2 separate regions of the Homo sapiens genome follow, and region 2 is linked to region 1. Evidence: promoter capture Hi-C in 16 types of primary human blood cells and fetal thymus (Javierre and others, 2016). All regions are on one chromosome and are shown on one strand. The core of a region is centred on a gene start or on the middle of the fragment in contact, and the rest is flanking DNA. Distances in the headings are between cores, read along the strand shown.

Region 1 (7,765 bases), core at 2,859-5,358:
TACAACAAAGAAAAACAATTTTACTTTATATTTTCTCACCCGAATATCTTTTATTTAGTTAGCTAGGTATTTTTCTTGCCTGATTTCTCTGGCTAGGACCTCTAGTACTATACTGAATAGGAGTGGCAAAAATAGGTATCTTATACATGACATTCAGAAATGTGCACACATTATAGTGGTATGCTTCAATACATTTTTCTTGTAGGTCAACACATCTCTGAAGGCAGGACACATTCAAAGAAAGTCCAAAAAGACCAACACCACATGGTCATGGTCTCACTTGTATGCAGAATTTAGGCAAGTTGAGTTTATAAAAGTAGAGAGTAGAATGGTGGTTACCAGAGGCTAAAGAGATAGAGGGCAAACTGAAAAACGGGAGGTTTTTGTGAAAGCATACGAAGTTTCAGTTAGACACAAGGAATGTGTTCTAGTGATCTGTTGCACGGCGTGGTGACTATTGTTAATGTCTATTCCAAAATTGCCAAAAGAGTAGATTTTAAATGTTCTCATCAGAAAGAAATGATAAGTATGTGAGGAGATGTGTATTAAAACATAATGACGGACAAGGTTTTATAATGCCTTATTTTTGCCTTACATATTCCTGAGCATTTTTACTGACCATTTTATTAACAATAATTTTAATTTAATTTTAGACTCACAAGCAGTTTAAAAAATAACTCAGAGAGCCTCTACACATGGCCCAGTTTCCACCCATGGTTACATTTGGCAATTACAGTATAATATCACAATGATGATATTGATTTTGATATATTCACTATCATCTTTTTTTTTTTTTTTTGAGATGGAGTCTCACTCTGTCGCCCAGGCTGGAGTGCAGTGGCGCGATCTCGGCTCACTGCAAGCTCCACCTCCTGGGTTCATGCCATTCTCCTGCCTCAGCCTCCCGAGTAGCTGGGACTACAGGTGCCCGCCACAATGTCCGGCTAATTTTTTGTATTTTTAGTAGAGACGGGGTTTCACCGTGTTAGCCAGGATGGTCTCTATCTCCTGACCTCGTGATCCGCCTGCATCGGCCTCCCAAAGTGCTGAGATTACAGGCATGAGCCACCACACCCGGCCCTCACTATCATCTTAATATTTTCCTAATTTTACTTATACTGATTTGAGGAGAGTCTCTTGCTACAAATGTGTTGGACTTGCTGCTTGTGTCTGTATAGGACAAAGACTATGGAGCCACTGACCCACACCAAGAAGCCAAAACTCAAAAAGTCAGGAGAAAAGTATATAATTGTATATAAGGTGCCAAATATTTCTTGCATTGCCCAGGAGCAGACTCCATAATTGTTTTTCACACTAAGGTTTTTGCTGTTCAGTGGGCTGTTATTAAAACGTCAAGAAACAACAGATGCTGGCAAGGTGGTGGAGAAATAGGAATGCTTTTCCACTGTTGGTGGGAAGGTAAATTAGTTCAACCATTGTGGAAGACAGTGTAGCAATTCCTCAAAGACCTAAAACCAGAAATACCATTTGACCCAGCAATCCCATTACTGTGTATATATCCAAAGGAATATAAATCATTCTATTATTATCATTCTGTTATAAGGATACATGCATGTATATGTTCATTGCAGCACTATTCACAATAGCAAAGAAATGGAATCAACCCAAATGCCCATCAGTGATAAAGAAAATGTGGTACATATACACCATGGAATACTATGCAGCCATAAAAAGAATGAGATCACGTCCTTTGCAGGGATATGGATGGAGCTGGAAGCCATTATCCTCAGAAAACTAACACAGAAACAGAAAACCAAACACCAAATGTTCTCACTTATAAGTGAGAGTTGAGCGATGAGAACACATGGAGACAGGGAGGGGAACAACACACACTGGAATATGTCAAAGGGGTCGGGGGATGGAGCACATCAGGATAAATAGCTAACGCATGCTGAGCTTAATACCTAGGTGACGGGTTGATAGGTGCAGCAAACCACCATGGCACACGTTTACCTATGTAACAAACCTACACATCCGGCACCTGTATCCTGGAACTTTAAAAAATTAAATTAAATTGGCGCGGTGGCTCACGCCTGTAATCCCAGCACTTTGGGAGGCCAAGGTGGGTGGATCACGAGGTCAGGAATTCGAGACCAGCCGGGCCAACATGGTGAAACCCCATCTCTACTAAAAATACAAAAAAAATTTAGCCAGGCGCAGTGGCAGGCGCCTGTAATCCCAGATACTCAGGAGGCTGAGGCAGGTGAATCGCTTGAACGTGGGAGGTGGAGTTTGCAGTGAGCCGAGATAGCGCCACTGCACTCTAGCCTGGGCAACAGAGTGAGACTCTGTCTCAAAAAAAAAAAAAAAAGAAAGCAAAGAAAGAAAAAAAAATTAAATTAAATTAAAAAAAAAAAGGAAAATCTGTCTGAAAATTCTCACCAGTTACCAACACTTCTTTCTGAGGCTAGGAGGAGAAGGAGGTGGTATGTTAAAGTCAATAATCACACTAACTTTATACATACAAGAAGCTTTCAAAATAGTCATAGTAAAAATGGTACTTTATAAGGAGAAGCTGAAAAAATAGGAAACCAAATGCATATTGGAAATAAATTATACAACTAGGACAATGGAGCAAAATAAGAGATTAAAGCAAAGAATCAGGAACTATCTTGAAAATAAATGATGAGTTCATATAAATAGGAAAAACATTTGTCAACAAGTGGTTTGTGGGAATCTAAAAGGTTTTCATACCTCAGAGCCTGAGTTTTTTTTTTTTTTTTTTGAGACCGAGTTTCACTCTTGTTGCTCAGGCTGGAGTGCAATGGCATGATCTCGGCTCACTGCAACCTCCGCCTCTGGGGTTCAAACGATTCTCCTGCCTCAGCCTCCCGAGTAGCTGGGATTACAGGCATGCGCCACCACCTCTGACTAATTTTTGTATTTTTAGTAGAGACGGGGTTTCTCCCTGTTGGTCAGGCTGGTCTCGAACTCCCGACCTCAGCTGATCCACCAGCCTCGGCCTCCCAAACTGCTGGGATTACAGGCGTGAGCCACCTCTCGCCTGAGAATCTTGATACTGCTGTGTTATTGATTGCTCCACCCCTAAAGAGATGTAGTTATTCATGGGAGAAAATACCTCATAATTTTCCCTGATGATAGCAATTCCATAGAGACACCAAAAGAATCTAAATTATGGCCGGGCGAGGTGGCTCATCCCTGTAATCCCAGCACTTTGGGAGGCCGAGGCGGGCGGATCACGAGGTCAGGAGATCGAGACCATCCTGGCTAACACGGTGCAACCCCGTCTCTACTAAACACACACACACACACACACACACACACACACACACTAGCCGGGCGTGGTGGTGGGCGCCTGTAGTCCCAGCTACTCAGGAGGCTGAGGCAGGAGAATGGCGTGAACCCAGGAGGCTTCAGCCTCCCGAGTAGCTGGGACTACAGGCACGCACCACAACACCCAGCTAATTTTTGTATTTTTAGTAGAGACGGGGTTTCACCATGTTGGCCAGGATGGTCTCCATCTCCTGACCTTGTAATCCACCCGCCTCAGCCTCCCAAAGTGCTGAGATTACAAGCGTGAGCCACCGTGCCTGGCCGCAGTTACTATTTCTTTTGTGATTGATATATATGAATATTGTGCAATGAAATTCCCTCCCAATTGAATTATCTTTCCCTAAAAATAAACCCAAGCTTTCTGGAACATATTGAATTTCCTATTTAACAAGTTTTAAGGATATCTTAGGTGTTTCTGGGATTAGTATTTATTTTCAGGATCTTTTGCATTTACTTGTGAGAAATGGCATTGAGATAAAAATGTGTGGGCTCAAGGTGGTCATGGTTATTTCTACGGAGTCAATTCACAATCTCTAGACCTGTCCGGTGGAAAATAACAGAAATATATGTGCTTAAAATAAAATATACCATGATGCAATGTTGATTGTTCCAAAAATTATAGTTTTTAAAAATTCTTCAAGTTAGCATTTGTACTGTGCTGAAGGCCTTGTTACCAATTGTATTGTAGCGTTTTTTTAATTTCTTTTTTTTTTTTTTTTGAGACAGAGTCTCGCTCTGTCGCCCAGGCTGGAGGGCAATGGTTTGATTTCAGCTCACTGCAACCTCTGCCTCCCAGGTTCAAGCGATTCTCCTGCCTCAGCCTCCCGAGTAGCTGGGACTAGCACGCGCCGCCATGCCCGGCTAATTTTTGTATTATTAGTATTTTGTATTATTAGTAGAGACAGGGTTTCACCATGTTGGCCAGGATGGTCTCCATCTTGGCCTCCCGAAGTGCTGGAATTACAGGTGTGAGCCACTGCACCCGGCCTAAAATTTGTTTCAATGCATCAATAACAATGGTGTTTACTAAAATATTAGTGTGGAAAAGGTTTTATGGTGTATTATTTTTGCTTTTCATATCTCCAGGCTACTTAATTGAAGGTTTTATTGAAATAAGTGTAGACTCACAAGCAGTCATAAGAAATAATACAGAAAAAGCCCTGTCCATATTACCCAGGGTTCCGTCATGATTACATTTTGCAAACTATAGTATAATATCACTCTAATGATATTGACTCTTCTGTGTTCTGTTTTTATATATTTCCCTAGTTTTGCTTGTATTTACTTGTTGCATGTGTGTAAGCCCTGAGTTTTATAGGTTTGATTTGTGGATCTGTTGTGCGGTTGAGCCCTCATTCATTCACCTGCTTCTCTGCAGTTGGACACACAAGCAATTGCCTTTGCACGAACAGGGACAATCTTAATTTCTGTTTAAGATGAGAAAATATGGTTGGAGACACATTAAAACTTCTGTCTCCACTGATGACAAGATACTTCTTTCTGCTTTTTTATTCTACTGATTCTTCAGACCTCAATGAAAATCAACATCCCCTAGATTTTGATGAAATGGCTTTTGGAAAAGTAAAATCAGGGATTAGCTTCCTCATTCAGACTGGAGTTGGGATCCTGGGAAATTCCTTTCTCCTTTGTTTTTATAACTTAATTTTGTTCACTGGACACAAGCTGAGACCCACGGACTTGATTCTCAGCCAACTGGCCTTGGCTAACTCCATGGTCCTTTTCTTTAAAGGGATACCTCAGACAATGGCAGCTTTTGGATTGAAATATTTGCTGAATGACACTGGATGTAAGTTTGTCTTTTATTATCACAGGGTGGGCACAAGAGTTTCCCTCAGCACCATCTGCCTTCTCAATGGATTCCAAGCCATTAAGCTCAACCCCAGTATATGCAGGTGGATGGAGATCAAGATTAGATCCCCAAGGTTTATTGACTTCTGTTGTCTCCTCTGCTGGGCCCCCCATGTCTTGATGAATGCATCTGTTCTTCTATTAGTGAATGGCCCACTGAATAGCAAAAACAGTAGTGCAAAAAACAATTATGGATACTGTTCTTACAAAGCATCAAAGAGATTTAGCTCATTACATGCAGTCTTATATTTTTCCCCTGATTTTATGAGTTTGGGCTTCATGGTCTGGGCCAGTGGCTCCATGGTCTTCTTCCTCTACAGACACAAGCAGCAAGTCCAACACAATCACAGCAACAGACTCTCCTGCAGACCTTCCCAGGAAGCCAGAGCCACACACACCATCATGGTCCTGGTGAGCTCCTTTTTTGTTTTCTATTCAGTCCATAGTTTTCTGACAATTTGGACAACTGTAGTTGCAAACCCAGGCCAGTGGATAGTGACCAACTCTGTGTTGGTCGCCTCATGTTTCCCAGCACGCAGCCCTTTTGTCCTCATCATGAGTGATACTCATATCTCTCAGTTCTGTTTTGCCTGCAGGACAAGGAAAACACTCTTTCCTAATCTGGTTGTCATGCCATGAGTCTTTTCTCTTCATGGAATTCAGCTATTTATCATAACTCTTGCTAAGATTTAGGAAATATTAACTACTAGTTATTTGTGATAGCAACATACACATGGCCAGTAATGCTCTTGTCCAGGAAGATCTAATACCAGAGCTAAAAATGAAAGTCATGGATACTGTTACACAAAGAACACTCTATATAACTGTGTTAAGTCCTTCAGACAAGTTCAGGAAATCAAAAAGTTTAAAAAGGGAATTCTTTAGAGATTTAGGGGAGATTTCTCATTTTTGTACTATGAAGAATCATGGAATGTTTTAAAAATATTTTTAAAGCACAGTTTGATTCAGGTGCTTCTTGAACAGCATAAATCCCCTGGAGAGTCCACATGTAAGAAAGACATGTGCAGGCCGGGCACAGTGGCTCACGCCTGTAATCCCACCGTTTTGGGAGGCTGAGGCACTCCCAAATGCCTCAAGTGATCCACTCAAGATGACTTGAGGCCAGGAGTTCGAGACCAGCCTGGCCAACATGGCAAAAACCCTGTCTCAAATACAAAAATTAGCCAACCATGTGGCACACACCTGTAGTCCCAGCTACTCCAGAGGGTGAAGCACGAGAATTACTTACCAGCTTGGGTGACGGAGGGAGACTCAAAATAAAAATAAAAATAACTAAAAGTGGCTGGGCACCGTGGGTCACGCCGGTAACCCCAGCACTTTGAGAGGCTGAGGTGGGCAGATCACTTGAAGTCAGGAGTTCAAGACCAGCCTGGCCAACATGGTGAAACCCCATCTCTATTAAAAATACAAAAATTAGCCAGACATGGTGGCAGGTGCCTGTAATCCCAGCTACTCAGGAGACTGAGGCAGGAGAATCCTTGAACCCAGTAGGCAGAGGTTGCAGTGAGTCGAGATCCCACCACTGCACTCCAGCCTGGGAGACAGGGCAAGACGCCGTCTCAAAAAAAAAAAAAAAAAAGAAAGAAAGAAAGTGCTTCTGCACTCCAGCCTGGACAATAGAGCAAGACTATCTAAAAAAAAAAAAATTAAAAATCAATATCAAAATAAATGAGTATTCTCATAAGCAAGACAAGCCTAAAGAAATGTGAGTACTAACTGTAATGTGGTTACATTTAGAGACACATGAAAAAAAATAAATAAAAGAATAAAAAATAATAAAATAAATGCAATGTGGTATCCTAGGTGGAATTCTGGAACAGAACATGTATTTTGGTAAAAACTGAGGAAATCTCAATCAAAGATGTACTTTAGTTTAATAATGTATCAAAACTGTTTCACTAATTGTAAATAATGCTGTATACTAATATATGACTATATATTAGTAACAACTAGGTGTGCTTGTAAATGAGATATCTCTGTACTATATTTGCAATTTCTCTGTACATCTTAAAATGTTCTAAAATTAAAACTCTATTAAAATAGAAAAATAAGATTTTTTTTTAAAAAAAGGGAAAAGATTTAGAAATTTGGCCAAATATACAGATAACAAATAAGCATATAAAAACTTATTCAGCATCATTAATTATTAGAGAAATGCAAATTTAAAAACCACACTGACCACAACACATCTATGAAAATGGTTAATCTTTAAAATACACCATAACCATCATGGACAAGGAGGTATAACAAATGCAATTCTGCTAAATATATTCATATAAACACTTGTATATGAATGTTCATGGGTCTTTGTTAGTTTTTTAGTCCAACACTAGAAACAATCAAAATATTTATTAATAGATTAATAAATTGTGGTATATTCAATGCAATACTCTTCATCAACAAAAAATGAATACGCTTAACATGTATAAATATCAAAAAATGCTCCATATGAATGTAATGTAGGATTTCATTTGTATAAGATACTAGAAAATTTATAGGCCGGGCATGGTGGCTCACGCCTGTAATCCCAACACTTTGGGAGGCCAAGGCAGGTGGATCA
Region 2 (7,765 bases), core at 2,155-4,654, about 20 Mb after region 1:
AATCTAAAATAAGGGTAATTCTACAAGAGGAATCACCTGGTTTCCCAACCAATAAAATGGCATTTTAAGAAATAAGGTGGAACTCCTAGGTATTGACAGACTTGAGACATCAGTCAAATGCAATGAAACAGTGGTTTTTACTTAGATCATGAGTTGAACAAACATGTAAAAGAAGAGATACTTAACAATAATTGGGAGAATGGAATATTGACAATATTAGATAATATTAAGAAACTTTGTTATGTGTGATAATAGCATTGTGGTTATGTAAAAGTGTATTTGTTAGAGATAATTTCTGAAGTCTATACACAGGAGATGATATATCTGGAATGTCCTTTTGTTCATACAAAAGAAAAATGAGGATGAATAACAAGTTTGGCAAAATGATGGTAACCTAAGTCTTGGATACATGGTTTTTATTTGTTTTGTTTTTGCTATTCTACTTTTGTGTATTTAAAATTTTCCATGATGTTCTTTTAAAGATCAAATTATCCATGAAATTATAGCCAGTTTAAAATGAATTATTTTAAAAAAAATTTCTGGCTGGGCCCGGTGGCTCATGCCTGTAATCCCAGCACTTTGGGAGGCCGGTGGGCAGATCATGAGGTCAGGAGTTCGAGACCAGCCTGACCATCATGGTGAAACCTCATCTCCACTAAAAATACAAAAATTAGCCAGGCGTGGTCACATGCGCCTGTAATCCCAGCTACTCGGGCAGCTGAGACAGGAGAATCACTTGAACCCAGGAGGCAGAGGTTGCAGTGAGCCGAGATCACGCCATTGCACTCCAGCCTGGGCAACAAGAGCAAAACTCTATCTCAAAGAAAAAAAGAAAATTTCTACATATTAAAACTTGTGGATGTTGCCAAAGCTCTACACATTGGGATTGGAATATTAATTACACTATAATGACGATAATGTATTCAGGAAGTTAAAATGTAGGTCCACATTTTATTTAGTTGACCTCTCTATCTCTATATTATAGTACCCATGGTATGCACCTTTTTTTTTTTTTTTTTTGAGACGGAGTCTCGCTCTTTCGCCCAGGCTGGCGTGCAGTGGCACAGTCTCGGCTCACTGCAAGCTCTGCCTCCCGGGTTCAAGCCATTCTCCTCCCTCAGACTTCCGAGTGGCTGGGATTACAGGCGCCCGCCACCACACCAGGTTGATTTTTGTATTTTTAGTAGAGATGGGGTTTCACCATGTTGGCCAAGCTGGTCTCAACTCCTGACCTCAGGTGATCCACCTGCCTTGGCCTCCCAAGGTGCTGGGATTACAGGCGTGAGCCACCATGCCCGACTCTCACTTCATATGTTTAAAGAATGAGTAAAAGAAAGCAATTACTACTGCTAAATGTGGGAAATAATGGACTAGACCTGTACTAATATATGGTAGTCACTAGCAACCTGTTGAGCACTTGAAATTGAGTTATTGAGCACTGAAATGTGGCTAGTCCAAATTCAAATGGTGTTTTTTTGTAAAACACAAGATTCTGAAGACTTAGTTATTTTAAAAAAGTTAAGTATCTCAATTTTTCATATTGAGTACATATTGAAATAATATTTTAGATATATTGGTTCAAATAAAATACATTAAAATGAATAACACTTTTTTGTTTTTAAAATTGTTATAGGAAAATTTATATATGTAGCTCACGTATTTCTATTGTCAGCGCTGGCATAAACAATAAAAAGTAGACTTGGTTTTTTTGTGTGTGTTTCTTTAAAAGATACCAATATAGTCAAGACCTTTGCAGTTTTGATCACAGAAATATGAAAGATTACACAGCTACAGCTATATGAATGATAAAAGTGACAGCTATGGATTTTTAAAGTTATAAGTTGCTATACTACATATATGTAATGTGTGTGTGTATAGTGTGTAGGTATATATATTTATATTTATACACACACTATACATGTATTTTAAAATATTGAAAATCCAGAATTATTTTATGGTAAAAATTACTAAAATTGACTTCACATGCTGAATGAAGAGAGCCTGAGTAGACCAACAAACAAATGAAAAATTAAGACGGTTAGAAGATACGCTTTCTAAAAGAATACATTTAGAATCTAACTTTAAAAAAAAAAAATCCTACTCTCCTGAGCCAGAGTGGTCTCAGAGAGACTCCGAGAACCTAATTTTTTACAAGTAAAATCTTTGAAGAATTGGTAATTGCTAAATTTTTCCAACATACTATTCTACAAGACTAACCTAAAACTGATTATAAGAACTAGGTGAGGAGGGCTGGCAAAACGAAAATCTAGACATTTTCCGTATGAAGAGAAATCTGGTAATTCTAATTTCTATGGGAAATTATATCCAACAGTTTAGAATAGAAAATCATTTATGTGGAATAACTTGGACCAGATCCATCCAGCTTTAATTATATATTTAGATTCTAGGCATTCTACCTTCAGAACATCATAATGATAGTAAAAGAGATACGATTCTGGCCCAGTATCATCTCAATTCATGCTTATTGTCTTTTTTTTTTTTTTTTTTTTAGCTTTCTATGTATTAAGAATGGAATGAATTTTATGTATGTAAAAGTGTAACCCAACACCTTAAAATTACCTTCTCAAAATTAATAAAGACAGAGTTCTTATAAATGATTGCATCAGTTGGACTTCGGTGATTTCACCGTGGTCATCCATTATGAACTGTATTTGCTGTTATAATTGGGAAGCCATGATGTTCAGTGTATTACATCATTATATTCCATTTCTCAAATGGAATATGAAACTTGATAGCATTTGAAACCATTTCCCAGGAAACACTAGTGCTTGATGGTATTTTTAGAAAGCATTCTGTGGTTAAATGAGCATATTAAAATTAATAATTAAGAAAATAAAACTATAGCTTCTCCAAATAATGAAGTAATGAGAGTTTAATTGATTTTATTTAACTTAATGTATCTGAAGCACCTTTTACCCTGTAACTTTCACTCTTAATGCTTGTGAGTATGGGATATGAACCCATTTTAACAGATAAGTGCTGTAACCAAAACAGGTGACAGCAAAGGTGGAAAGTTCGGACCTCATGTCAGGTGGTTAGTTGTGTTGGAAGGTGGATGTGAGGTATGTTTCCCTGGATGTGGCATCATGTTCTAAAGTCACCTGTTCTTTCTGAATATTGAACTGTTGCTTTTCTGCAGAAATAAAATTTCTGAATCAACACTATACTGCAATGAAAATGAACAACCTATGACTGTGTACAATACAGATAAATCTCAAAAGCATAATGCTGGGCAAAAGAAGCCAGACATAAAAGAGTGTGGGGAAAAGCAAGAGAGATCAGATTGTTACTGTGTCTGTGTAGAAAGAAGTAGACATAGGAGACTCCATTTTGTTCTGTACTAAGAAAAATTCTTCTGCCTTGAGATTCTGTTAATCTATAACCTTACCCCCAACCCCGTGCTCTCTGAAACATGTGCTGTGTCAACTCAGAGTTAAATGGATTAAGGGCGGTGCAAGATGTGCTTTGTTAAACAGCTGCTTGAAGGCAGCATGCTCCTTGAGAGTCATCACCACTCCCTAATCTCAAGTACCCAGGGACACAAACACTGCGGAAGGCCGCAGGGACCTCTGCCTAGGAAAGCCAGGTATTGTCCAAGGTTTCTCCCCATGTGATAGTCTGAAATATGGCCTCGTGGGAAGGGAAAGACCTGACCGTCCCCCAGCCCGACACCCGTAAAGGGTCTGTGCTGAGGAGGATTAGTAAAAGAGGAAGGAATGCCTCTTGCAGTTGAGACAAGAGGAAGGCATCTGTCTCCTGCCCGTCCCTGGGCAATGGAATGTCTTGGTATAAAACCCGATTGTACGTTCCATCTACTGAGATAGGGAAAAACCGCCTTAGGGCTGGAGGTAGGACCTGCGGGCAGCAATACTGCTTTGTAAAGCATTGAGATGTTTATGTGTATGCATATCTAAAAGCACAGCACTTAATCCTTTACATTGTCTATGATGCAAAGACCTTTGTTCACGTGTTTGTCTGCTGACCCTCTCCCCACAATTGTCTTGTGACCCTGACATATCCCCCTCTCGGAGAAACACCCACGAATGATGAATAAATACTAAGGGAACTCAGAGGCTGGCGAGATCCTCCATATGCTGAACGCTGGTTCCCCGGGTCCCCTTATTTCTTTCTCTATACTTTGTGTCTTTTTCTTTCCTAAGTCTCTCGTTCCACCTTACGAGAAACACCCACAGGTGTGGAGGGGCAACCCACCCCTTCAAAAGAGGACATACTATATGATTATATGGAATACAAAAATTGAGAACTTTTTAATGTAGTTAGAAGTCAGGATACGGCCAGGCACCGTGGCTCACGCCTGTAATCCCAGCACTTTGGGAGGCCGAGGCGGGCGGATCACGAGGTTAGGAGATCGATGAAAACCCGTCTCTACTAAAAATACAAAAAAATTAGCTGGGCGTGGTGGCGGGCGCCTGTAGGCCCAGCTGCTGGGGAGGCTGAGGCAGGAGAATGGCGTGAACCCGGGAGGTGGAGCTTGCGGTGAGCTGAGATTGCGCCACTGCACTCCAGCCTGGGCGACAGAGCGAGACTCCGTCTCAAAAAAAAAAAAAAAAATACTGAAAATACAAAAAATTAGCCGGGCGTGGTGGCGGGCGCCTGTAATCCCAGCACTTTGGGAGGCTGAGGCGGGCGGATCATGATGTCAGGAGATCGAGACCATCCGGGCTAACACGGTGAAACCCTGTCTCTACTAAAAATACAAAAACAAAATTAGCGGGGCATGGTGGCGGGCGCCTGTAGTCCCCGCTACTCAGGTGGCTGAGGCAGGAGAATGGCGTGAACCCAGGAGGCGGAGCTTGCAGTGAGCCGAGATCGCGCCACTGCACTCCAACCTGGGCAACAGAGAGAGACTCCGTCTCTAAAAAAAAAAAAAAGATACTGGTGGGGGTGAGGGGGGTAGGGGTACATGGCAGGAGGGATAGTGATGGTAAGAGCAATGGGAGGTTTCTGTAGATGCTAGTAATGTTTTGTTGCTTGATTTGCGTGCTGATTACTCTGATGTATTCAGTTTGTGAAAATTCATTGAGTTGTACATTTGTATACTTTACGTTTATTATAGTTCAATTAAAAGTTTTTTTAACTTAGGAGAATAAAAACTGAGTTTATATTGATACTTCCAATTCAAATTTAATACCACATTATTTTTAACTTTAATTTTATTCTCGCGTCTTTTGCTTTTCCCCTGAACATCTTGTTGGATTTTAACAATGAACTAATGTATGTGCTGTGATCTATAAACAGTATAAAATACTTACAACAGAATACGAGCATTACTACCAAACATGAATGCTGAATGAAGTTGAAGATTTCTTGGCATCACTCTCCGTCCTTCAAATATCATTCACTACGAATGTAGAGGGAAAATGCTTAGTTCTAACCAACCTGATTTCCAGCTAGATTCATTCGTTTCTATTTATTTTCAGTGTTCAAGGACTGCCATTTTTATTTCTGATTCAATTTTACTTTTAAAGACTATAACATTTTCATGATTTTAAAGTTAAAAACATAAAATGTGTTCAGAGAAATTTTGCATCAGTTTGTGTTCCATACAATCTGTTCCATCAATTCCCTCTTAAAAAAAACCATTTTATTACTCTTTGGTATAACTTTCCAGTGGTTCTTTTTGAGAAGGGTTTAAGTGCTCTGATGATTGCTGCGTAACAAGCCACCCAAAACTTCGTGCCATAAGACAAGCATGTTATGCTCATAGGTTCTGTGGGTCAAAAATCCAGAGAGAATACAGCAGGGATGTTTTTTCTTTGCTTCATGATGTCTGGAGTCTCAGCTGGGGTTATTTGAATGACTAGTCCAGGTAGGGCTAGAATATCCACTTCCAGGCTTCTTCTCTCTCATGCTTGAATTTTGGACTTGGAGGACTTGAATACCAATCTTAGCTAGAACTGGCAGCAGGAACACCTACATGGTCACAGATTTTTCACAGAATGTTTATTCCAAGATGAACATCCCAAGAGTGAACATTCTAAGAGAACCAGGTGGAAGCTGGCCTTTTCTGACCTAGCTTTGGAAGTATTACAGCATCACTTCTGCATTTTAATGGTTACTAGTGAGACTTAAATCCAGCCCAAATTCAAAGGAAGGGGAATTTGAGTTTACCTCTTGATGGAAAAGTGCTAAGAACATACTGTAGAAGACCATGTGGGATGGGAAATATTATTGTATCCATCTTTGAAAAATACAGTCTGCCACATTTTGCCTCCTGGCCACCATTCACATCCTGCCCCATGAAAATACACTCATGCACTTCCCTCAGGCTTCCAAAGTCTCATCCTATTACAGTATCAATTTGAAGTCTAGGACCTTATCTAAATCAAACCCAGCTAGATAAAGAAAATGTGTGTGTGTGTGTGTGTGTATATATATATACACACACATACACCATATATATATACACATACACCATATATATATATACACACACACACATACATACATACATACATACATACATACACCATGGAATACTACACAGCTATAAAAAAGAACAAAATCATATCCTTTGCAGCAACAAGGATGGAGCTGGAGGCCATTATTCTAAGCAAGTTAACACAGGAACAGAAAACCAAAACCAGCATGTTCTCACTTATAAGTGGGAGCTAAACACAGAGTACACATGGACACAAGGCAGGGAACAATAGATACCAGGGACTACTTGAAGACAGAGGGTGGGAGGATGAGAATCAAAAAACTACCTCTTGGGTAGTACCCTTATTACCTGGGTGATGAATAATCTGCACCAAACCCCTACAACACACAATTTACCCATGTAACACACCTGCACATGTACCCCCTGCACCTAAAATTAAATTTGGAAAGAAAAAAAATCAAGTCCAGGTGTGGATAAGCCTCCTTCAGTGCAGTTCCTGGGATACACTCCTTGAGTATGAGCCCTCTCAGTCCACAATATTGGGAACTAACTTCAATCTACAGTTTCTTGACACACCCACATCCAGTGGTGGAACAGCCATAGAATAATAAGCATTCAGATTCAGAAAGTTGGTGGGTAAAACAGTTGAAGGAAATTGCTAATCGTAACAATTCTGAAATCTGGCTGGGCACACATAACCAGCTCCTTGATCAGCGTTCCCTGGAAATGATTTTCTATGGCTCTTGTCCTGCCATCTGATCTTTTGGTTGCACTTTCTGAGTCACGCTGGGGTTTTCTTTTTTTTCTTCATAAAAAGTAGCCCATGTTTACAACTGAGTACTATTCTCATACTTTTTTCTTGTAGATATTTGGGAACCCAAAGATCCTTTCTCACTTTGTACCGTTTCTGCCCCTGTAAGCTCAAGCTTGTAGTGCATCAAGTAGTACAATTCTCTTGAAAATTCTGTGTATACTGTGAATTTTATTAGGGTTCATTAAATGAAACAAAAGACACACCACAGGCTCTTCTCTTTATTGTGCTCCCTAAGAGGCCACTGTGGAAAAATGACAGATACTTTTTTTTTTTTTTTTTTGAGACAGAGTCTCTCTCTGTTGCCCAGGCTGGAGTGCAGTGGTGCAATCTCGGCTCACTGCAAGCTCCGCCTCCCAGGTTCACACCATTCTCCTGTCTCAGCCTCCTGAGTAGCTGGGACTACAGGTGCCCGCCACCACGCCCAGCTAATTTTTTTGTATTTTTAATAGAGACGGGGTTTCACCATGTTGGCCAGGATGGTCTCGATCTCCTGACCTCGTGATCCGCCCGCCTCAGCCTCCCAAAGT

Evidence for each region. The method cuts DNA at HindIII sites, captures the fragments that hold promoters and counts their contacts. A CHiCAGO score of 5 or more calls a contact.
Region 2: a contact is called between a fragment that was not itself captured here and the fragment with the promoter of VN1R1 in region 1, in 1 of 17 cell types (total CD4 T cells). The highest score is 5.5, in total CD4 T cells.

Annotation. Positions count from the first base shown.
Region 1 is chr19:57,453,483-57,461,247 of GRCh38, reverse strand. It overlaps VN1R1 (vomeronasal 1 receptor 1), which reads left to right and starts at 4,108. Exons shown (of 1, transcript NM_020633.4): 1 at 4,108-6,458. The coding sequence starts at 4,762. The coding sequence ends at 5,823. It also overlaps the pseudogene VN1R107P. The HindIII fragment of the contact is 5,648 bases long and covers 3,675-7,765 here.
Region 2 is chr19:37,626,426-37,634,190 of GRCh38, reverse strand. It overlaps ZFP30 (ZFP30 zinc finger protein), which reads left to right. Exons shown (of 6, transcript NM_001320669.3): 6 at 1-3,185. Among named protein-coding and RNA genes, the nearest start is that of ZFP30, 25 kb to the left of the region's middle. The HindIII fragment of the contact is 7,896 bases long and covers 1-7,352 here.